Regions from separate parts of the Homo sapiens genome. Here all the other regions are linked to region 5. Evidence: promoter capture Hi-C in 16 types of primary human blood cells and fetal thymus (Javierre and others, 2016). All regions are on one chromosome and are shown on one strand. Each heading gives the region's core, a stretch centred on a gene start or on the middle of the fragment in contact. The rest is flanking DNA. Distances are from core to core; before and after follow the strand shown. Region 1 holds the start of NEDD4L (NEDD4 like E3 ubiquitin protein ligase). Region 2 has its middle 1.7 kb from the start of SEC11C. Region 3 overlaps MBD1 (methyl-CpG binding domain protein 1). Region 4 holds the start of C18orf32 (chromosome 18 open reading frame 32). Region 5 holds the start of MBD2 (methyl-CpG binding domain protein 2). Region 6 overlaps SKA1 (spindle and kinetochore associated complex subunit 1). Region 7 has its middle 6.7 kb from the start of CXXC1.

What was found. Contacts are between HindIII fragments. The CHiCAGO score rates a contact against its expected background, and 5 or more counts as called.
Region 1: a fragment that was not itself captured here is called in contact with the fragment with the promoter of MBD2 in region 5 in 2 of 17 cell types (total B cells and activated CD4 T cells); the score reaches 5.2 in total B cells.
Region 2: a contact is called between a fragment that was not itself captured here and the fragment with the promoter of MBD2 in region 5, in 2 of 17 cell types (naive CD8 T cells and non-activated CD4 T cells). The highest score is 10.4, in naive CD8 T cells.
Region 3: a fragment that was not itself captured here is called in contact with the fragment with the promoter of MBD2 in region 5 in 3 of 17 cell types (total B cells, naive CD8 T cells and naive B cells); the score reaches 9.6 in total B cells.
Region 4: a fragment that was not itself captured here is called in contact with the fragment with the promoter of MBD2 in region 5 in 1 of 17 cell types (naive CD8 T cells); the score reaches 8.0 in naive CD8 T cells.
Region 6: a fragment that was not itself captured here is called in contact with the fragment with the promoter of MBD2 in region 5 in 2 of 17 cell types (total CD4 T cells and total CD8 T cells); the score reaches 8.4 in total CD4 T cells.
Region 7: a fragment that was not itself captured here is called in contact with the fragment with the promoter of MBD2 in region 5 in 1 of 17 cell types (non-activated CD4 T cells); the score reaches 5.7 in non-activated CD4 T cells.

The regions. Positions count from the first base shown.
Region 1 is chr18:58,044,223-58,047,362 of GRCh38, reverse strand. It overlaps NEDD4L (NEDD4 like E3 ubiquitin protein ligase), which reads right to left and starts at 3,137. Exons shown (of 31, transcript NM_001144967.3): 1 at 2,655-3,137. The coding sequence starts at 2,702. RefSeq lists silencers at 2,503-3,052, 3,073-3,140. The HindIII fragment of the contact is 670 bases long and covers 1,267-1,936 here.
Region 2 is chr18:59,136,729-59,139,625 of GRCh38, reverse strand. No RefSeq gene overlaps it. Among named protein-coding and RNA genes, the nearest start is that of SEC11C, 1.7 kb to the left of the region's middle. RefSeq lists an enhancer at 63-152 and a silencer at 263-312. The HindIII fragment of the contact is 1,471 bases long and covers 655-2,125 here.
Region 3 is chr18:50,269,262-50,272,580 of GRCh38, reverse strand. It overlaps MBD1 (methyl-CpG binding domain protein 1), which reads left to right. Exons shown (of 17, transcript NM_015846.4): 16 at 1,041-1,112; 17 at 2,763-3,319. The coding sequence ends at 1,080. Among named protein-coding and RNA genes, the nearest start is that of CFAP53, 4.4 kb to the right of the region's middle. The HindIII fragment of the contact is 1,766 bases long and covers 821-2,586 here.
Region 4 is chr18:49,485,667-49,488,989 of GRCh38, reverse strand. C18orf32 (chromosome 18 open reading frame 32) reads left to right here and starts at 1,756. Exons shown (of 3, transcript NM_001035005.4): 1 at 1,756-1,947. The region is part of intron 5 of RPL17-C18orf32 (RPL17-C18orf32 readthrough); the gene reads left to right. RPL17 (ribosomal protein L17) reads left to right here. Exons shown (of 7, transcript NM_001035006.5): 7 at 424-509. The coding sequence ends at 471. It overlaps MIR1539 (microRNA 1539), which reads right to left and starts at 1,617; the gene lies at 1,568-1,617. RefSeq lists an enhancer at 1,698-1,857 and a silencer at 1,898-2,027. The HindIII fragment of the contact is 546 bases long and covers 1,015-1,560 here.
Region 5 is chr18:54,222,706-54,226,034 of GRCh38, reverse strand. It overlaps MBD2 (methyl-CpG binding domain protein 2), which reads left to right and starts at 1,366. Exons shown (of 7, transcript NM_003927.5): 1 at 1,366-2,017. The coding sequence starts at 1,476. RefSeq lists an enhancer at 1-525 and a silencer at 1,276-1,665. The HindIII fragment of the contact is 9,949 bases long and covers 1,000-3,329 here.
Region 6 is chr18:50,377,038-50,380,243 of GRCh38, reverse strand. It overlaps SKA1 (spindle and kinetochore associated complex subunit 1), which reads right to left. Exons shown (of 7, transcript NM_145060.4): 3 at 1-118. Among named protein-coding and RNA genes, the nearest start is that of SKA1, 3.6 kb to the right of the region's middle. The HindIII fragment of the contact is 1,683 bases long and covers 1,111-2,793 here.
Region 7 is chr18:50,292,771-50,295,917 of GRCh38, reverse strand. No RefSeq gene overlaps it. Among named protein-coding and RNA genes, the nearest start is that of CXXC1, 6.7 kb to the right of the region's middle. The HindIII fragment of the contact is 1,003 bases long and covers 1,098-2,100 here.

The sequences.
Region 1 (3,140 bases), core at 352-2,851, 3.8 Mb before region 5:
AAGTGCACTCCAAACATACCATGCTTTTCAACAATCTCAAATCAAAATACGAATCTACTTTTAAGAAATGTGGTAGGTATGTGTGTCTACTTTGCTAAAAGATTTATGAGGTCACTCTTCTAAATAGCGGTCAAAATATCTTCATATGTGATATTCTGCAGCACACCAAGTCTGCAAACTAAGTGTACCCATATTTAATACGCCTTGGAAGAACAACCCTGCCGTTTGCTTCAGCGGGCATTCTACTTTCAGAGCCTGCTAAAATCTTCCATTGGTTTTTCTTACACATACTAATTCAGGGAGACAAAACAAGCTGTGCAAATTCAACAATTTGTCGTTAATATTCTACGAAGGCATTCCCTGATTCTCTGAAGGGCAACGTGACAGCATGAAACTGCCCATGAAAAACAAATACCAATGAAATGTGAAGTCATCAGAACTGCCCTGGCTTATTTTTTCACTGGTAGGAGAAAGTTGAAAAAGGAAGACGGCTGAGACTCATCTTGTGAAATACAATGTGTGTGGAACTAAATACTACCAGCGACATGGCAATAAATAGATAATAAAAGGTGTCTTCATCACCTCTTGCTATTTCCTATACAGCCCCAAATTCCCTTCTAGCAACATGCAGGAGTGAATCCAGTCACATGCCAACACACACTCGGACTCTGTTTACATTCCAAGCTTCACTTTCACACTAGACATCAGTTATGATGATTAGTAGTGACTCCTGTGGACAAAAGTGGCAAGATGTGCTCTAGGTAGATTCTGACACTCACTGCCAATGTAAATAAAGCACAAACAACAGTGACATTAACGTGTTTCATTTATCCAGCTGCACTTCCCAAAACACTCTTAAAATCGTTTTTTCGGGGGAGTTTTTACAAATAATCATGTTATTAAAACATTTTTTAAAAGAACCTAGGATGAAATGCAGCTGTCCTCACCCCCACCCCCCACAATACGTCAACCCAAGCAGCCCCTTTGTTTAGGAATGTCTGCGTCTCTGCAACTCAGGGCCTGCCCTCTACTGCCACTAATTAAATGGAGAAGTAGAGGATGCAAGGGAAAGCTCCTCAAAGAGAGAAGCCAGGAGGGAGAGGAGAAGCCCCCCGGGTCAATGAAACAATGCTACTGTCACCTATCCCCAGGTAGTTACACAAAACGGGAAATTATTTTACAAAAGCACAGCGAGGCAAAATAAACACACAAATCACACATTATTTGCACTGTGATCATTCTTTGATCAAATAAATACATCAAGCTTTGCCTAGCACCGCTAAGAAAAAAATTCATACCCTAAACACCCTTCCCACCCCAAAATACCTTTCATTCCACACTTACGTAGCACACAGGCACACACACACACCATGCCAGGGTAGGAGAGCCGCAGAAAGCGGAGCCATAACGCGAGCCTGTCTCAGATAATAGCCTTTCTTCCAACCCCACCCCCAACACGAGAGAAAGAGGGAACCTCTGAAAAGAAAGGAGGGAGGGGAAGAAAGAGAAATCGAGAACGCCTGAATTTCCAGGCATCAACTTTTCATGAAATGCACAACCAGGATAGGAAATACCTCCCTGCTGAGTAATGCTTCTTGGGTTGTAAAATTCACCTCTCGAAAGGGGAGCCAGACCTGAGCGCGCACCCCGCCAGATGGCAAACCACTCCTACCTGCTCCATCCAGCCTGCCTGTCACGCCGCGCCCGCGACAAGCGTCCCACCCCCCTTTTTGGCAGAGCAACATACCAATAAGAGCCGAGCGTGGCTGGTCGAGAGAGGACTAGGCAGTGATTTAGCAGGATTGTTTCAAAAGGGGGGAGTGGGAGACACGGAAGAGAGAATGAAGGTAAAAACAAAGCCCTTTCCAGTGAAACCGACCGCCTGGGAGGCGTGGCTTATTCAGTCGCTTTATTAATAAAAGAGATCAATTAAGCTTTCCTCTCCCCACCCACCCTGGAGGTGCCGGGCTTTGAATCCTCGGGAGGAAAAAATGGCAGGGCTGCAAGCTTCCTCCCCAAGTTTCCAGGAGCACCTGCCACCAGCCTTGAACACCTCCCCCACCGAGGCTCCGAAATCCACAATCCTGGCCGTAGACTTTGCAAAACGAGGGGAGGGACACACGCAGCGTGTCCCCCATTCCCGCCGGGATAAGCACGCACAGGCTTCTGAGCGCCTGCTGATCCACACAATCATGAGAGAGAAAGTTCCAGGGGGAAACGATCCGGCTTCTCCGCAGTCCCGGGTCTCCAGCCGCGCGACCCAGACGTGACATGCATCATGGACTCCCGGGCTGCAGGGGCGAGAGGCGGAAAGTTGCCCAACAGCCCCGGGAGACGCTGCTTGGAGAGGAAGAGGGAAGAGAGGCACGCATGCCCCCTCCCTCTCCTCCCGAAAGCGAGGAGCTGCGGAGTGAACCCCCAGCTCCAAGGGCGTCGCGCCGCTTTATTTACAAACAATGAGCTCGGCTTGCGGAGGGTGGGGGGTGCGGAAGGACCCAAGCTCCCCTGGATCCCGCTCCGGGGCGCTCCCGCTTTGGGGCTCCCCTGCAGACGCTGGGCACGAGCACCCCGGGGACGGCCCCTTTCCCCTCCCCCTGCCGGCGCGGGATAGGAACTCCCCGGGGAGTCCCGAGCAGGAAGGGGGTGCCACTCACCTCGTCTTCGGAAAGTCCATAGACCGGCTCCCCGAGCCCGGTCGCCATGGAGCCGGCGCCCCGCGCGGGGTCTGAGGCGCTCCCAGCGGCTGTGCTGCGGCGCGGACGGCCGGTTCTCCCCTCTGCCTCCAGGTCCCCCCGGTCCCGCACCCTACCCTGCGCACGCCCTGCCGGGTAAGCGGCCGGGCGCCGGCAGGTGAGGGTGCCCGAGAGCGCGCCCTGGACGCTGCCGGCACCGCTTCCTCCCGGAAGGCTGCGGGACCAGCGGGCGGGCGGCTCCCGAGAGCGCGCCGAGCACCGGGCGGCAGCCCCGGCGCCTCTCACTGCGCGCGGCGGCGGCGCAGACCCGGCCGGGCTTTCCCTCCCCGCGACCCGCGCCTCCCTCCCGCCCCGCCGCTCTCCGCCCCCCTCCGAGCCTCCTCTGCGCTCCCGGGGACCCGGCTCGCCCGCCTCCTCGCTAGCGCCGTCCGGGCCCCCGCTCTCTCC
Region 2 (2,897 bases), core at 141-2,640, 4.9 Mb before region 5:
CGCATACCTCGGGGGGCAACTCGGGGAAGGGACTACTCAAGAGGAGCTGAATTTCCCGACTCTGGTCAGGCGCCAAGAGGACACCTAACTCCCGCTCGCAAATCACCTAGCCGTGTATCTTGGCTATTGGATGACTGCAGCGAGGAAAGGTGGTGCCTCTACGCTGGGGCGGGCTGAGCCGAATTGGGGCGGGGCCTAAAGATGGACTGCGGTGGGCGGGGCTTGGAAGAGGCGGGACTTTTGAGGCCGCTGAATTCTGCATTTTGAGTGGTACCACTTGTATGCAAGGAAGTATCTTTGAATGCCTTGACCATAATTGGGTTGCAATAGATATTAATTAAATGAATACATAACCACCTAATTTCATACACGAGAAAGCAAAGGCCCAGAAAGGTTCATTGACATGGCCAAGGTTAAGTGGAAATGAGTGGAATATAACTCAAAGTTTTAAATTTAGAAGTCCTAGATCATCACAGTTCTGATCCTAGATTACCTTTGGTTCATTCACTCACTCGTGTATGCATTATGCATTCTTTATTGTATTTATTTATCCACAAATCTTTATGGAGCACCTACCATGCACCTGGCCTTGTTCTAGGCACTTGAGAAACATCAGTTAACAAAACAAGCAAAGATTCTTGCCCTCATGAAGCTTATATTCTACCGAAGGCAGACATAATGGATAATTTATACGGTACCTAAAGGATGGAGGTGCTATGACAACAGGAAAAGCAGATAAGTTGAATGGGGAGGTCTGGGGGAAAGGATCAGGTTGCAATTTAAAATATACCAGAAGCTGACTTACCATGAAGCTAATGAAAGGTAAGTTCTGGGACCCTTCAATTGCAAAGGTGTTTTTCCAAGGTGTGGGAGAAACTTAACCATAGAATGTGTAAAACTTTCAAAAGCAAGATATTGCAATTGCTATTGGTTAAGAGTTCTGTTTCTTTGCATTCCAACTTCACCTCCATTACATTTCCCCTCCTGTTGGAGGGACAAGGAGAATTTTGGGGATCCAGCTAAGGAGGAAACGAGTTGGAGATACATTTGGTTTGAGTTTAGTGAATTTATTTATGTGGTTCATGGTCTTTCCTGCCATCCTCGTGTAAAAAATGGCTTCTGGGAATACTGCCATCCACTGGGCCAACTCACCTGGCACCGTGGCAGGAAGTCCCACTGGAAGTGGCATCTGATATGAAAGTGTTCTGCAGCACTTGACCTTGGAAATAAGTGGATGGAGAGGAAAAACAAGGTTTGAAATGTACAGATCCAGAAGCTAGTCTGTGTAAAATTCTTCCAAATATCAGATGTATAAAATTATAAGTGCAAGACACAGTGCTTAGTACATAGGAAGATATGGTGATAGTTAACCCTGCCACTAATAATTGCTGGAACTAAGGTGGCAGCACTAAAGGTTCAGAATCTGGATACATTTTGAAGAAAGAGTCTTCAGGATTTTTTGAAAGAATAAATATAGGGCGTGAAAGAAGAAAAGAGATTGAGGCTGACTCCAGGGTTTTTAACCTATGGAACTAGAAGGGTAGAGTTCCCCTCAACTTCAATGAGGAAAGCTGTGGGTGGAACAGGTTTGTGGGAATAGAGTAAGGGTCCAAAATGTGACCAATAAACCTAGAACCCAGTGTGATATCTTCACATCAGAACCTTTGGCCCAGCCTCCAGGCTCCTGCTTAGGTTGAGCATTGGGTGAGAAGCAACACAGGAAGACATTGGGTAGAAGTCCCTGCATATTGTCCAGTCTTAGACTAATTTATTCACCTCCATGAACCCTTTGCTCATCCACCAAATAAAAACCGTATTTGTTACAGCCACTTTGGAAGACAGTTTGGCAATTTCTTCCAAAACTAAGCATCCTCTCACCATATGATGCAGCAATTGCACTCCTTGGTATTTACCCAAATACCAGCTTGAAAACGGATGTCCACACAAAAACCCGTACACGGATGTTTTTAGCATCTTTATTCATAATTGTCAACACTTGGAAGCAACCAAGATGTCCTTTAGTGGGTGAATGGATAAATAAACTGCAGGATATCCAGACAATAAAATGCTATTCAGTGCAAAAAAGAAATGTAATATCAAGCCATGAAAAGACAGGAGGGAAGCTTAACTGCATATTACTAAGTGAAAGAAGTCTATCTGAAATGGCAACATACTGTATGATCCCAACTACATGGCATACTGAAAAAGGCAAGAGATGTTGTGAGAGTCAAGTGAGGTATTAATAATATGCAAAAAAAACCTCCCATCTGACTCAAAATAGACTCTCAGAACCAGTAGGAGGAATTATGGCTACTATTAATATTTTTTTCTTAATCCAGGACATAAGTAATTAAGAGAACTAGAATGTTCACTTCATTTGTTCTGTCACTGGTGGCCTCTTCCCCAGTGAAGTACTCCTTCCCGTGAACTCTAGAGGCAAGACTATGGAGACAGTAAAATGATCAGTGGTTGCCGGGGGTAGGGGGGAGAGTATGATACTATAATGATGAGTACATATCATTATATATTTGTCAAAACATAGACTGTACAACCCCAAAGTGAACCCTGATGTAACCCGTGGACTTTGGGTGATAAGGATGTGTCAGTGTAGATTCACCAATTGTAACAAATGTACTACTCTGGCAGGGGAAGTTGATAGTGGAGGAGGCTGTGCATGTGTGGGGGCAGGAGTAGATGGGTATATCTCTATACTTTCCACTCATTTTTGCTGTAAACCTAAAACTACTCCAAAAAAATAATGCCTAAACATTTTGGATACAGCATATAGTGCTCAGGTGATGAGTACACTAAGATCTCAGAATTCACCACTAAAGAACTCATTCATGTAACCAAAAACCATCCGTATCCCAAAAATTATTGAAATATAAATAAATAAA
Region 3 (3,319 bases), core at 454-2,953, 4.0 Mb after region 5:
GTGGGAGGTAAAGGCCCATACCCACTATGCTGGTCACAATTAATGAGGGGCGTGTGTGTAGGACCCTAGAGATTTCTCCTGAGATCCAGCCCAATAGCATTCCAGGTTAGGACTCTCCTTTGGGGGTAGGGGAAAGACTTGGTACTCTATCATGAGATTTGAAAGAAAAAGATAGGGAGTCTGGTCCCTATTTTCCTAAGGAATTTCTATAGGGGTCAGCTTTAATATATAAATTCTTATTCAGAGAATAATCATTTGGGTCTTGAAGGCCTTTAGAGTCTCCAGGAGACCTCTGGGTGGGCTGTTGCCTGACATTGAGCAATGTGTACCAGAGAAATGGTGCTGGGCTTGCCTGGGCAGTGGTATGGGCAGGAGATCTGGGTTCCGAGCTGGCTTTGTGAGCTGGGTTCACACGTAGTTGTGTGATCTCTGGTTGCCCTGCACTTCCTGGAGCGGCCTCTGTGGAAGGGCTTGGGCTGGATCTCTTGAGCCTTTCCTGAGCCTATTGAGGTTATTAACTTCAGATGCCTTGCAGAACTGTCCCTGTAGTCCTGGCATAGAACAAAGGGTAGATGCCTGTAAGGACTAGGGTGGTTGGGAGGACAGAGGAGTGCTGGCTCCTGCAGAATATTGACAGACCCTGCATAGAGCCCCAGACACTGGCGATGTAAACTATTGGCCTAAGCACTTGGATTCCTTTGCTCCTACAAACCAGCCCACCAGGCTAGAAACCCTTTCATCTATACTTGGCCAATTACAGAAGTATTGATTGAGTTCCTGTTGGGTGCACAGCATTGAGGACAATGAGCCCTGCAAAGCTTACCCTTCAGGAGACACAGGATACCTACCTTCAGGGAGCTTATAATCTGACTATGTACAAGCTGTCTATAATGGTAGTTTTTAGAAGATATAAAAAAAGATAAAGGATAATTAAGGGGAAGTGGATGGAGGACACAGAATAGTAGGAAATGGTTTTGTAATGCTCCATTGCGCACATAGCAAACCTCATTCAACATACAGACCTGCTCCCTTTTCCCTAGGTCCAAAGACCTTAAAAAACCTGGAGCTAGAAAGCAGTAGACTGGAGGCTTCTACAGACTGTAGGATTCAAGGTGATATTTGCAGACTGGCTTTATGAGAGACAACACTGATCTACTAGGGGCTGGACCCTAGATTGGTTGCCAGGGCTTGTGTGTGAATCAACCCTAGGAGGAAAAACCTACTACCAAACCAGAAGAGCAGGCCTAAGAGTACTTTGAGCTTCTAGAAGAAGTAAGCGGGAAAGGAAGAGAAAGAGTAGAAAGTTGGTGCATCTTCTCCTCCCCAAGAGCCTGAGTATAAGAAGTTGGATTTTAAGGGTGGGGGAGCTGGGTTGGAGAAAGGTAATATAATTAAAGCCACCACAAAACAACCTAAACAAGCCATGTTCATGAGTAATTGTAAGTGGCTTCTGGATGAGACCTGGCAGTGTCTCTACATACTTCCTCAGGGAGATAGCAATTGAAAATGTAATTGAATAAATAAGGAAAGGAACTGCTATTTGGTGTGTTCCTCTGTGGACCCAGTTTATTTAATCCTTAAAATAATATTTTTGGGAAGACATTGATTTTGTCCATTTATGTGGATGGGAAAACTGAGACTCATTAATTTGTCCAATGTCGAACAGCTGGTGTTAGTAGAGCCTAGACTCAAACCCAGCTTTTAAAGCCCTTGTTCTTTACTCCACTAAACTGTAACCTGTAATCCTGTATGCACTAACAGGAGTTTTCGGTGACCTTGAAAACACAGATTACTATAATTACTATAATAAATCCCTTACATTCCTGTCTCTAGCATGGTTTAGGGAGTGCCAAGGCTCAATGTAGATGGGGTCACCTTGTCAGAGCATCTGTTCATACAGAAACTGGGTTTCCTGCAGACCCCAGGTGCTGCATAGGATTCCTCAAACCCTACAGGATATATCTCCCCACTGGCTGCTGTCCATTTTGCTTGTTACCCTGACTCCCCCTCTTCAGCCAGAGCAGTCTTTGTAACTAAAGCTGCCAGCCTGGCTCATCTTTCCTGACAACGTGCATCTCCTGCCCTGTGATCACCTTTGTGCTTGGCTCCTGCCCTCAGCCTGAATGTGTTCTAGGAGGCTGAATTCCTGCTTCGAGTCCTGCCCAAGAGCCAGTCTTGGCTCAGCCCTACCTCACTCTCTCCCAATTCTTCATTCATAAAGTGCCAAAAAGATTAGACCTGTAATTTGTTAGCCAGCTTTACAGGGCCAGGACTGAGTGAGTGCCTCCTTAAACTTTGTATCCTGTGTGCCTCCCTTGCCTTACCCTAGTCCCAGCCCTGCAGCTTTAAGTAATTCAGACATGGATTAGCCATTTCCCAGTTCTGTCTCATACAGTCCAGCCTCTGCCACCTTCCCCACCCCTTCCTTTATTCCATCCTAACTAGTTCAGCCCTAGTCAAGACTGGATAGACTGATACTGCTTTGTTTCCCCCAGGAACCAACCACCCAACCCCAGTATTCTGGTAATTTTGACAATGATCTATATGAAATTTATTTGATTGACATTTAGACTCATGAGTTAAGCTTCTGCTGACCATTTATGTTAGGGTACAATCAGAGGAGCAGAACCACTAAGATAAAGATTATGTATATATGTATTTTAAGGGATTTATTATAGGGATCTGACCGCATGCCATTGTGGGAGCTGGTTAAACAGTCTCTGTAAGGCTGTTGTCTTTGCATCTAATGCTGGAGCTTGAAGTCTGCAGGGCAGGCACTCGGGAAGGGAAGATGGATGTAAAGTGTGGGAGACCGAGGACACAGTGGAGCCCACGAGCACGAGCTGGAACCCACGAGGATGGCCTGGAACCCATGTCAGTCTCTCACCACCTCCAGCTTCGATGATGTGGGTGTCCTGCAGAAGAAGCTGGTGCCCTTCCTCACAGAGTTAAATATGCATCTGGCCCAGGAATTAGAGAAGCTGAAAGGATGATCCTGGGGAAGGTGGAGCAGCTGCAGGCCTGGCTGCAGGCCTGACTACTGCCCACACCAACGAGGTGATCTAGCAGATACATGGCAACGTGTGAACTGCAACAACGCCTGGTGCCCCAGCACCAACCTTCCAAGTGTAAAAACAATGTGCTGCTGCTTCACTTCCGCCCTCCGGTTATCAAGCAAAATGTCTCTTGTGGCCCATCTTACTGGAAGAGAGTTCCGGGAAACATAGCCTCACCAAGGTGACACATTACAAAGCCACCCTACCATGAATCCGCTCCCAAGGGTCTCACTGCTCACCTGAGGATAACTCAATATAACTAT
Region 4 (3,323 bases), core at 38-2,537, 4.7 Mb after region 5:
GAGGAGGAACTAGGAGTGAGCCGAGATCGCGCCACTGCACTCCAGCCTGGGTGACAGAGCGAGACGCTGTCTCAAAAAAAAAAAAACTGGTAGTTTTATATTCAGTACCTCAGGCCCGTATGATTATCTGCTGATGGCCCCACTTAGATGTACATAGCCACTTCAAAATGGGCCCTCTCCCCAAATCTAAGAAGCTTGTTTTCAGTAATTGATCACATTTAGTTCTTTTAAGTCAAGAACCTGAGTGATTCTGTACACTTCTTTTTACATCTAATGAACTTAAGTTCTGTTGATTTCTACCATTTAAGTATTTTTCCCCCTTAGTCCTTAACGACTAGGTTTCCTGCCTCCAGAATAAGCTGAAGTCCTCCAAGATGTACTGTGGTTTTCTCTAAGAAACTTAACACATTTTTCTTTCCCCAGATATCCCAGAAGAAACTGAAGAAACAAAAACTTATGGCACGGGAGTAAATTCAGCATTAAAATAAATGTAATTAAAAGGAAAAGAATGTTGGTTGTCTTTATTAGTGAACATATTTCAAGTGTCCTTACAAGATGGATCAAATGAGGATTTTTTAGGATTAGAACTAGAAACACAAGATTGTTTACCCTGCACCATTAAAAACCATTTTCATGGCTGGGCACAGTGGCTCATTTCTGTAGTCCCAGCACTTTGGGAGGTGGAGGCTGACTGCTTAAGCCCAGCCAGGGCAACATGTCAGAACCCTGTCTGTTAAAAAAAAGTAAGTGTGGTGTCACTTGCATGTAGTCCCAGCTAATTGGGGGGCTGAGGTGGGAGGCTGCAGTGAGCACTACTGCACCCCAGCGTGGGCAAGACAGAACAAGACCCTGTCTCAAAAAAAGTTTCATTATCCCAAAAGGAATTTGCAGTGGTTTTCTTTGCAGAACAATCCAGTATGTGAATATACCAGTTGATCATCCCCAGTTGGAAATGGCTCCATTGAGCATTGCCTTTGAGTATGATAACAGCACTCAGGCTCAGGTTTTGAAGCTTTTTAGGTTGATGCTCAACCTGTATCATTTCGTCAATTGATAAAGGGGTTTTGTTTTTGCTATTAGGAACGATGGTACTGTGAACGTTTGTGTGCAGATTTTTGTGTTTTCATTTATTGAGTATATACTAGAGTGGAATTGCTAGATCATAAGGTTACCTGAGTAAACATCTGAGGAACTTCCAAATATTTCCAAAAAGGCTGCACGCTACATTTCCACCAACGGTTTATGAGGGTCCCAGTTTTCACACAACTTCGCCAACACGTACTGACATCCTAGCGAGCGTCAGTACTTTTCGTTTATAAAGTGATGTAACTGCTTCTTTTAAGCAACTGACGTTTGTAAAGTTGGCCTTAATGTTAGTTTGCTCTGCCCTTGAATTTAAGAAACCAGCAAAACTAATAGCTTATCCACAGTTGCCTCAACGGCCTAGCTGCCACCTTCCGTGTGGGTGCCGCGCCGTTTGCACAGGCATCATCCTTTACCGAGATCCTGCGTTCTGGGTCTGGGTGTAGTCAGGTCAGGCTTTCTTCCCGCAGCGAAGCTTTTAGTTGGGCATCTGGGACGCGCAGGACTTTCGCGCTACCTGCAGGCCGCAGAGCCGGAAGCCTCGCCGCGCCCCTTGGGCAACACTGCTGCGTGCTGTGCGACCCCGGGTTGACGCAAGCGCGCCTTTGTCGTCCCCGTTGAAGGCGCCCATTGGCTCGGCTGCGGATCGTCCCTCCCTCCGGAAGTGCGGACATTGTCAGCTGCGTTTCCGCGGTCGCGGGTGAGTGTGCCCGGGCTAGCGGCCTGGGTTGGGCTTTGTAGCTGCTCCGCAGGCCCAGCCCGGGCCGCGCTCGCAGAGTCCTAGGCGGTGCGCGGCCTCCTGCCTCCTCCCTCCTCGGCGGTCGCGGCCCGCCGGCCTCCGCGGTGCCTGCCTTCGCTCTCAGGGTACCTTCCTTCCGCGAGCGCGCTCCTCCGCCCTCCGCCCCGCCCTCCCCTCCCCTCTGTCTGTATTCTTTGTCCACCACCGGCGCCCTCGGAGCTTGCATTTGCCTCTCCGATACTTTATATTGATTTTGTTCTTTTCCGTGGCCAAGTATCGGTTTCACATCCTTTCTATGACCTTCACCGTTAGGCCTCTGTTCTCGTCTCTTTTCAATCATTGTCATTGACTCAACCTGTCCCCGCTCCCTCTGTCTCCACTAAGATGACATGCTCAACTGGATGACTTGGAGGAAGGTGACTTTCCCTGTTATGCCTTCCCTATTTCGGATGGAGCCTCAGACTTTAACTGTCTACTCTGTTGTCTGGACTTAAGTTGAGTGAAAGAAGATTCCTCTGCAACAGCTTTAATCCGTTTTGCTCGCTTTGTTGGCTTGGAGCGAATAATTAAAATAATAATATCTCGTAGCCACCTTCTAGACTTTTCTGACCCAGTTTCCATATGTGTGAAGTAAAATATCTTACCGAAGTATTATTATGAAGATTAAAAGATAAGATACAAATAGGCTTCATTCCGAAGAGAGCTAAAAAGTCTCTTAAAAGCCGTAATTGTGGCGTAAGTGATTAGTAGTATTTGTCCTCGAGAGTTTATGTACATCGTACTGTGTGCGAACTTACTTAAAACACAATTGCAGAAGTAAAAATGAATCTTTATGATGGAGGGCCTGTCAGTCACTAAACTAGTACTGGTAGCATTGTCAGTTGTTTTGAAGGGGTTTCGTTGGTTTGGAAAGTTTGGTAAAAGTTTGGTAAAAACATGACCATTGTGTTTTTGGAAGAGGAAAAGGCAAGAGCATTGAGGAAAACCAGAACTGGAAATAATGGTCTTAGAAGCTCTAGTTACCAGTTACCTCTGTGAGAACTTTGGACAGGTTACAACTTTTGGATTTTTTTTTTTTTTTAATCTTGAGACAGGGTCTGCCTCTGTGGCCCAGGCTGGAGTCCAGTGGGCCATCATAGCTCACGGCAGTTTCGGCTTTCCTGGGCGCAAGCGGTTCTCTCCTTCCTCAGCTCCCCAAATACCTGGGACTACAGGCGCGTGCCATCACACCTTGCTAATTATTTAAAAAAAAAAATTAGGCCAGGTTCCAGTAATCCCAGCACTTTGGGAGGCCTAGGCGGGAGGATCATTTGAGCTTAGGACTTTAAGATCAGCATGGGCAACACAGTGAGACCTCATCTCTACTAAGAATTAAAAAATCTGTCGGGCATCGTGGCGCAGGGCTGTGGTCCTACCTACTCAGGAGGCTGAGGAAGGGGGATAGCTTGATTCTGGGAAGTCAAGGCTGCAGTGAACTCTGAACACAGGTGGTATGTTTGAG
Region 5 (3,329 bases), core at 117-2,616:
TGCCTCAGCCTCCGGAGCAGCTGGGACTACGGGCGCCCGCCACCACGCCCAGCCAATTTTCTGCATTTTTAGTAGAGACGGAGTTTCATCGTGTTAGCCAGGCTGGTCTTGAACTCCTGACCTCAGGTGATCTGCCCGCCTCTGCCTCCCAAAGTGTTGGGATTACAGGCGTGAGCCACCGCGCCCGGCCCACAGATGACTTCTAAATGAATGTCTCCAGTACTGATCTCCTCAGAACTCATTTCTTGATGATTTTTTACATTCACATTTCTAAATTTCTTGTAGGAAACCACAAATTAGTGTCTTTCAACTAAAGGACATTAAAAGAAGACTAAGGTCAGGTTTAGAGACAGACAAGTTTGTGTGTATGAGTTAATGTTTGCATATACTGCAAAGATAAACCAAATTAATTTTAGATTTTTGTTGCTTTATATTAATCAACTTTTTCTATACGTTAAACTTGGTCCTCAGTTTTTAGGGCATATGAGTATAGAAACCCAAGATAGCTTATCATCAGGCTGATAACATGTGCTTTACATTTTTCAATCTTCCAAATATTTCATAATATATTATCTTGAATATCAATAGCACACTTCTATAAGTGTTCGACAACTTATAGAAAATATGCATTTCTAAAATTCAAGTTGGCAGACCGAAAAGAATACCACACAGTTTCCTAAAGGCTTGTGACAGTAAGTTAGGCTGGACTTTCAACATAATGGAATATTTACCAAATAAAAGGCCACTGATTTTTGTATTAGACAAAGACATCTGGAAATTTCTAGATGGATTTAGGGATTCTGGTCATTCTAAGGAGAATCTAGAGGTAAGCCCCATCTGACTCATGGGCATATTCCAAGTTATCATTTCCTTTCCTACATCCTTACAAGGTTCCAGGAGAATCTGTCAATGGCTCTGAAGCCAGGCTCAGGAGGGAACTGGTATTCAGCGAATGGGACACTTTGCTTCATTCCTTCATTATAAGCTCCCCTGCAAGCTTTGTGCAGAGGGGCGGGAAAAGGGGCTATCACCCCCTTAAATGAATAGCCGAGTTGGTATGTAATATAAGATCTATTTTGCTTGTTATTCATTAATTGGGAAGCAAACATAGGTAAAATCACATAATGGTGGAGGTTACCCCGTTTGAAACAAACTAACCACAGTCACTATGACACCCCCAGCTGGTGGCTAGCCCGACCAACCTTCCCAGCTCCGCGCGCCCAGTGGGGGCCGGAAAAGCGCGGGAGGGGGCGTGGCCCCGAGAAGGCGGAGACAAGATGGCCGCCCATAGCGCTTGGAGGACCTAAGAGGCGGTGGCCGGGGCCACGCCCCGGGCAGGAGGGCCGCTCTGTGCGCGCCCGCTCTATGATGCTTGCGCGCGTCCCCCGCGCGCCGCGCTGCGGGCGGGGCGGGTCTCCGGGATTCCAAGGGCTCGGTTACGGAAGAAGCGCAGCGCCGGCTGGGGAGGGGGCTGGATGCGCGCGCACCCGGGGGGAGGCCGCTGCTGCCCGGAGCAGGAGGAGGGGGAGAGTGCGGCGGGCGGCAGCGGCGCTGGCGGCGACTCCGCCATAGAGCAGGGGGGCCAGGGCAGCGCGCTCGCCCCGTCCCCGGTGAGCGGCGTGCGCAGGGAAGGCGCTCGGGGCGGCGGCCGTGGCCGGGGGCGGTGGAAGCAGGCGGGCCGGGGCGGCGGCGTCTGTGGCCGTGGCCGGGGCCGGGGCCGTGGCCGGGGACGGGGACGGGGCCGGGGCCGGGGCCGCGGCCGTCCCCCGAGTGGCGGCAGCGGCCTTGGCGGCGACGGCGGCGGCTGCGGCGGCGGCGGCAGCGGTGGCGGCGGCGCCCCCCGGCGGGAGCCGGTCCCTTTCCCGTCGGGGAGCGCGGGGCCGGGGCCCAGGGGACCCCGGGCCACGGAGAGCGGGAAGAGGATGGATTGCCCGGCCCTCCCCCCCGGATGGAAGAAGGAGGAAGTGATCCGAAAATCTGGGCTAAGTGCTGGCAAGAGCGATGTCTACTACTTCAGGTACCTCCCTGGGGGCGGGGAGGGGGTGGCGGGGTCAGGCCGGGGTCAGGGGTCAAGAGCGGGCCTGGGCAGAGGATGAGCGCTGGGGCCCGGGGGGCATGTGGCAGGGACAGGCTGGTTTGGTGGTGGAAGGTGGCGGAACCCTTGGGTGAGAGTTGACCCCAGTGCGGTGGGAGGCAGTGTCAAAAGGTGAGGGCCCGCAGGAGGGCATCTTATGTGGAAGGCGTCGGGGAAGATGGTTTGCGAAGAAAGGGTTAGCCTGGCAGGGATGGTTAGTCCACTGAAGGGTTAAAAGGAGGTGTAATTCATCGAAACTATAAAACCCAGTCACTGTTGGCTCCTGTCCCAGCCTGTCCCAGATTCATCATCACAAGTGTTAAGCATGCACATGTGGAAGAATGAGCTATCTACAGTAACAAGGTTTCATTTACTTCATCCAAGAAAGTTTTGTATAAAGCAGCTATTTGGAATGCCTGAAGTTTTTTTGGAACTTCTTGGTATTGCAGAATATACTCTTTTGAAACTGACACACTGTACTAAGTTTTTAGACTCCTAGACCAAAATTTGCTCCCCAGGGAACATTTGTCAATGTCTGGAGACATTTTCGGTTCTCACACCTGGGGAGGGTGTGATACTGGCATCTAGTGGGTAGAGGCCAGAGATGCTGCTACATATTCGATAATACAAAGGAAAGCTGCCACAACAAAGAATGATCTGGCCCAAATTGTCACCTGTGCTGAGGTTGAGACATCCTGTTTTAAATGATTCAAGGTTTTTCACCTTAGTGTAATCTTGCAATCCCGTGGTCATGCTGCTGATGTCTTCAGTTTGTGTGACCCAGTAAGCTCAAGAAAGTGCCTATGGCAATTGACATCCGTGGACTTAATACACATTTACTAAATTTTGTAATAAGCCATGCTATTGATAGAAGATAATATAAACTTGTATTCAGTAGTTTGGAGGTACGTGTTTGTGGACTGACTGAAGCATTTTTCAGGGAATGTATATGGGTATTGGAGACAATTGTCATTTAGCTATTGTAATAATGTTATAAAGGATTTCCTGTCCTCTTCAAGTAGCTCTGGGAAAATGTGTCTGTACACATACCATGCTTATGAACTAAAAATACTTTTAACTAGATTGAAAAGGTTAAAGAAATGTACATACACATATATACATACATATGCACACACAAGAATGTGATCACTGCTGGTGCAGCATGTAAATACGAACACATTCCTGATGGTTGCTATATATGGATGAGTAGTTGTAGTAAGTTCACTTCACCTCAACTAAAAAATAAAAGTGATGT
Region 6 (3,206 bases), core at 703-3,202, 3.8 Mb after region 5:
GAATTGTTGGTTTGTTCTTGATACTGAATTTCCAATTCCAATTTATTTAGAAGTTCATTTATTACAATGATCTCATCTCCTATTTTATTTAATACAGTTTTCAAGGTAGGTTCCTGGCCTGTTATAAACAAAAATAAAATAGAAAACAAAGTGTATAGAAAAGCAGTAGCTATAAGTACTCATGCGAACTCTTAGAATAGATAGCTGTACCTTAGAGAGGGGTGGAAAAAGGTCTACTGCTTTAGCCCCTAGAAAATGACTCCATGGACAATCCTGAAACCTCATTTCTAAGTAGTATGGAACAGAAGGAGGCGAGAGGCAAGGACAATGTCTCTCCTGCGTCTTTTGTTTCTGGCAAATTCTTCCACTTATTAAAACACTTAGAAATGCGAGGTAAAACAAGCATCCTTCTACGTCCACAGCTAAGCTTTCATGAGAAAAAGGCAAATTTCCAGGGGTTCCAATATGAAGAGGGAACTGTGGTTCCCCCTCATACCAGGCAGGGTGTGTGAGCTGAGGCTGCAGCAGCCCTAATCTGAGGAGTGTGGAGCAATGCTGGACAGGAGGTTGTCAATCTCAGCAATTGAATATATTTGATTTTAATAGGGATAAGATCCAAGGTTTTGGGGCTTTAAAACACAGGGTGTTGGAAGTGAGAATCTCAAACGAGGCTAGGACTCTTCTTTATGAATATATTTTCAGTGAAAGTTGTAATCACTCACCAGAGAAATAAGCTTATGTTTTAGACAGGCCCTTCAGTGTGTGTGTGGAAGGGGTGGGAGTGAGGTTGAGGTGAAACTCTCTTTCAGAATTTGTAATATGGATTTGGAATTCATATTAACACTATCCACACTATTCAAAACCACCCCTAAGCAGACAAAGTAACATAAAAAGTCACAAGCTGGTGATAACCCTGGGTACCTGGCAAAAACAAACATAAGACATTTATAAAGTAGTATATTCTCATGGTCCCAATCCCACCTCCTAGCACCCCTCTCTAGGTGAGAAAATCAGAGTCCCTTCCTCCCTAGAAATAAAAGAAGTAGTTTTTTAAAAAATTTAAGGGCAGATTAAAAGCACAGAAGAAAAACTACCTTCATAATTGAAGCTTCCCATCTGCATTTCCAGCTATCTAACAATGACATACACATAAGTAAAAGCAGACTTTGGCAATATGTGTAGATTAAGGAGGCAGTAGAGTGAACCAGGTAGAAGGCCTGAAGTCAGAGACACCAAGTACCTACCTCATTACTGTGAAGATAGGTGAAAGTACATATAAGATGGGCTTAGCCCTGCATGTAGAACGTAATACTCAGTAAATGCTAACTGCCATTCATCATCATCATGAGTATATCATTCTATCTAATAGAGCAACACTACTTGCATTTGACACTCAGCTCATAACAAGTAAAACTAATTAATAAGTAAATGAGAGTACTGATGTCTCTGAGAATAATTTCAGTAGAATTAGTTGAACACAGTATTTCTTCCCCATACACTGGTATCTCAACTTTTAGTCACCTAAATTTTAGGGTGTTGTTTACCACTTTTTTTTTTTTTTTTTTTTTTGAGACAGGGTCTTTCTCTGTCACCCAGGCTGGAGTTCAGTGGCACCATCGGAGCTCACTGCAGCCTCAACCTACCAGGCTCAAGCAATCCTCCTGCCTCAGCCTCCTGAATAGCTGGGACTACAGGTAAACGCCACCACACCTGGCTCATTTTTTATTTTGTGTAGAGACAGGGTCTTACTATGTTACTAGGCTGGTCTCAAACTCCTAAGCTCAAGCGATCCGCCTGCCTTGGCCTCCCAAAGTGCTGGGATTACAGGTGTGTGTCTGGTCACTGTTTTTTATGTAGTAATCTAGTCAGTTACAGAAGCCAAAGTAGCAAACAAACTACCAGACTTTATTTTATAGGCTATGGAGCCACACAAATTATTATCCCCCCATACAAAATGACAGTTGACAACTGTGTAAGGATCTCATGGGTCTGACTGCTTCAGCCAGGCCTATGCTTTGGTGGGTCATGTGAATTCAAGGCTTGATAGTTGTATAGATCTCCAAATTATATTTGTTTATCCATGACTAATCATAACCTCAGAAAGTGAATTTAAACAAGACTCATTATTAAACATCTAAAAGTCTTTTACAAATTACTTCAATAAAAATGGCAACAAAATAGAAAGAGTACTAACATGGGAATCAAGAAACAGAAACTGTCGCCCAACCAAGTACTCATGAGCTGAGGGACCTGGGCCAGCCACCTGACTTCCGAGAGTCTCAGTTTCCTCAGGTGTGAGGTCAGGGGGCTCCTTAAGATGAACCCAGTCCCTTTAGCTTTAACTTTCCAGAGTATGTGAACCATAAACTGTAAAATGTATGAGGCTCCTTTATTAGTAGTTATCAATACAGGACTGAGAATATCAACGTCCCTGAGAGGGGAGGTATAATTCGAAATGGCCTATCTAACATTATAATTTCATATTTGAGAAAGTTTTCAAACTACCAATTCATAATACAAACTACAATACAAGTTCAACACAACCTTCCCAGCACATGGAATTCTGTCTGCCAATAAACCGTTACCCTCCCAGATAAGGTTAGGGAGTATGTAATTCTTTAGACATTTTAGATTTGACAAGGATCATCTGTTTCTCTGAACTTTCATTGCATCATCCAATTTCAGCACGTCAAAATATTTTCAAATATACTTAAAATCTCCAAGTTCATGGATGCTTAAATAATTTATTTCATTTTCAATTAGTTATTTCCCAGTGATATAGAGTAATAAGCTTCCTCCAAAGCAGGCTCTAAGATGGGTTATGAACTACTTTTACCCCTATGGAGCTCTACATCAGTTTTTTTAACTTGCCTTTTAATAATGTGCCACATAACAGTGATTCAGTCAACAATGGACCATAAATATGACAGTGGCCCCATAAGATTATAACGGAGCTGAAACATTCCTATTGCCTTGTGACATCGGAGCCATCATAACATCATGGTACAATGCATTATTCACATGTTTGTGGTGATGCTGGTGTAAACAAACTCTAATGCCAGTATTACAAAAGTACAGCACATACAATTATGTATAGTACATAATAATTGATAATAAATGGTTACTAGTTTATGTTATTTACTATACAATACTTTGTATTGTTATTTTAGAGTGTACTCCTTCTACCTATTAAAAAAAAAAAGTTA
Region 7 (3,147 bases), core at 350-2,849, 3.9 Mb after region 5:
ATTTGGATTATATCTGAATAAAGCTGTTTTTAGAAAAATACTCGATGCCTTTCACTAGCGTTCGGAAAGATTTATTTAAATGCATAAAGATTGGTTAATAGAAAAAAGTGGGTTTTGAAAGAAGGAACCCCTTTTTTTTAAGGAAAGGGGTGTGATAGGATTTGAAAGATGAGGAAAGCTAATGAGGGCCCCTAATTCCCCCACCCCACATCTCTCATAGGCCAGATTTAAAATATACAAATTCCATACCTGGAGAATTATCATTGGGATCGTGAACACTTTTACTCTCCCCTAGACTCCCAGGATAGTTGTCCCCTTGCTATGTGTAGTGTGTGACATGGAAAAGGGGATTGGCCCAGGCAGGAGACAGTGCCTGAATAGGTGGTTAACCAGCCATGTGTTCCTGGGTTCCTGCTGCTCTAAGTGACTCTTGAGATTTTCCTGAGCCTGCTTGATTTGATTGTAATTGAATTGTGAGAACTTGCTGTGTAGAGTTGGTCCTGCAGGCTTGGAAATGGGAACAGCAGGTACCTTCAAGGACAGAAACAGTGAAGGAGGCCTGGGGAATGCTGCGTGCTGCAGATTATTGATGGGCCTTCCACAGTACTCCAGACGAAGGCAACTTAAACTGTTGGTCAAGCACCTCTATTCTGTTGTTCCTTCAAACCAACCCCGAGAAGCCACATTAAAAACCCCCTTTGCACATAGACAATTACAGAGATGGTAATGAAACCAATTCTGTGTTCACAGCACTGCAGGAAACACAACTGTGGATTCAATTCACCTTGTGTGGTTTACTCTTCAAGAGATGCTTAGTTCTTACCTTCAGGGAGTTTATAATTTCATTGAGGAAACAACTTGCTCATATATGAAACCATTGCAGATTAACAAAATTACAGGAGTGTTCTGGTGTCTGTAACGGCAACTTTTGGAAGAGAACACAGGGATAATCAAGAAAAAAAATTATCATGAACACAGACCAGTACCAAAGGGTTTTATAATGCTCCATTTTGTGTATGACAAACCTCAGATTTGCTCTGTCTTCTGTAGGACCAAGGACATCATGATCTGGGGCTAAAAAACACAAACTGGAAGCTTCTGCAGGCTATAAAATTCAAGGTGATATTTACAGATGAGCTTTGCGATGGATAGAAACTGACCTATTCAGGATAGAAATTGGTTCGTAGGAGTTGGGTAGGAATAAAAAGTAGAAGAATCTACCACCAAACCAGAGAAGCAAGCCTATTTAATTCTTTTTGGTTTTTTCAGAGGGCGTAAGTGGGAAAGGAAGAAGTCAGATTAGAAAACTGGTGCACTTGTTCCTCTCTAGGAACCTGAGTGTGATAAGAAATGTGGGCCAGGTGCGGTGGCTCACACCTGTAATGCCAGCACTTTGGGAGGCTAAGGTGGACAGATCACCTGAGGTCAGGAGTTCGAGACTAGCCTGGCCAACATGGTGAAACCCCATCTCCACTAAAAATATACAAATTAGCTGGGTGTGGTGGTGGGCACCTCTAATCCCAGCTACTCAGGAGGCTGAGGCAGGAGAATCACTTGAACCTGGGAGGCGGAGGTTGTAGTGAGCTGAGATTGCATCACTGCACTCCAGCCTGGGTGACAAAAGTGAGACTCTATCTAGAAAAAAAAAAAGAAATGTGGCTGTTAGGGACGGGGAAGCTGTAGTAGGGAGGGAGCAGATTAGAATTAAAGCTACTAAACAAGTCCTCCTCATCAATGATATTAAATGACTGGTTCATGACATTTGGCAGTCTTTAAACATTTCAGAGACATCAGCTTGAAAGTATAATATATGAGGAAAAAGGATATTTGTGTCAGGTGTCCTAAGACCATCCTCAGGTTCAATGACTCACTAGAAGAACACACAGAATACAAAAACACTGCTAAGCTCCCAATTAGTTTGTTACAGCAAAAGAATACAGATTGAATGAGCAAAAAGGCTCATAGGCTATAGTACAGGAAAGACCATGCTTCCAGTTCTCCTCTCCTAGAGGAGTCATATAAACAGCACTTAATTATCCCAGAAACAGTGTTGTGATAACATGAATGAAGTATTGCAAACCAGGGAAGCTCATCCAAGCTTTGGTGTCCAGGGTTTTTATTAGGGGATTGGTTACATGAGTATGGAGGGTGCCATTGCTGACCTTGGTTACTCAGTCTCCGGCCTCTCCAGAGTTCATATTGATACCCTGTGGCCCAAGGTCCCCACCACAAATCACATTGCTATCATAAACTATCTGGTGTGGACCAAGATCCTAGGTAAATATAAACATTCTTTTTTTCTTTTTGAGACAGAGTCTTGCTCTGTCATCCAGGCTGGAGTGCAATGGCGTGATCTGGGCTCACTGCAGCCTCCACCTCCTGAGTTCAAGCAATTCTCCTGCCTCAACCTCCTGAGTAAGTGGGATTACAGGCACCCGCCACCACACCTGGCTAATTTTTGTATTTTTAGTAGAGACAGGGTTTACCCATCTTGGCCAGGCTGGTCTTGAACTCCTGACCTCAGGTGATCCACCCACCTTGGCCTACCAAAGTGCTGGGATTACAGATGTGAGCCACTGTGCCCAGCTGAACATTCTTATTAGGCAAGTAATTCTGAGCACTTTAAGGTTATCTCCCAAGAGCCAGTCAAATATCAGATTTTTTTTTCATGTGAAGGTTTGAACAACCAAGGCCTGCTGAGTTAATCTTTTACCGCATGGCACTATTTGGAGAGTTCCCATTCTGGACCTAATTCATATTATTCTCTCAGATGTCTTTCTAGGAGGATGTTAATTTTGCCCATTTTTATAGATGAGAAAAAGTTCTCAGAAAGATTAACTACACTCTGCAATGTAAAGCAGCTAGTATTAGTAGAGCCTAGAATCAAACTCAAGCTGTAACACTTTGTTCTTGAAGGCATGAACTGTAAAATATACCTCTAAAAACTATGACTTAAGATATTGCAATAGCCACAGAATATTTCAGTGTCATTGAAAACATAAGATAGATATTGAATCCCTTGGTCTTATTTTTCTGGCATGTTTCAGCAAATTCTGCCTGAATTTGTGCCTGAATGGACATTAACCTCATGAGAGACCTACAATAGTTCCTTTGCATTCAGAGTCTGAGTTCTTTCCAGACTAGGGA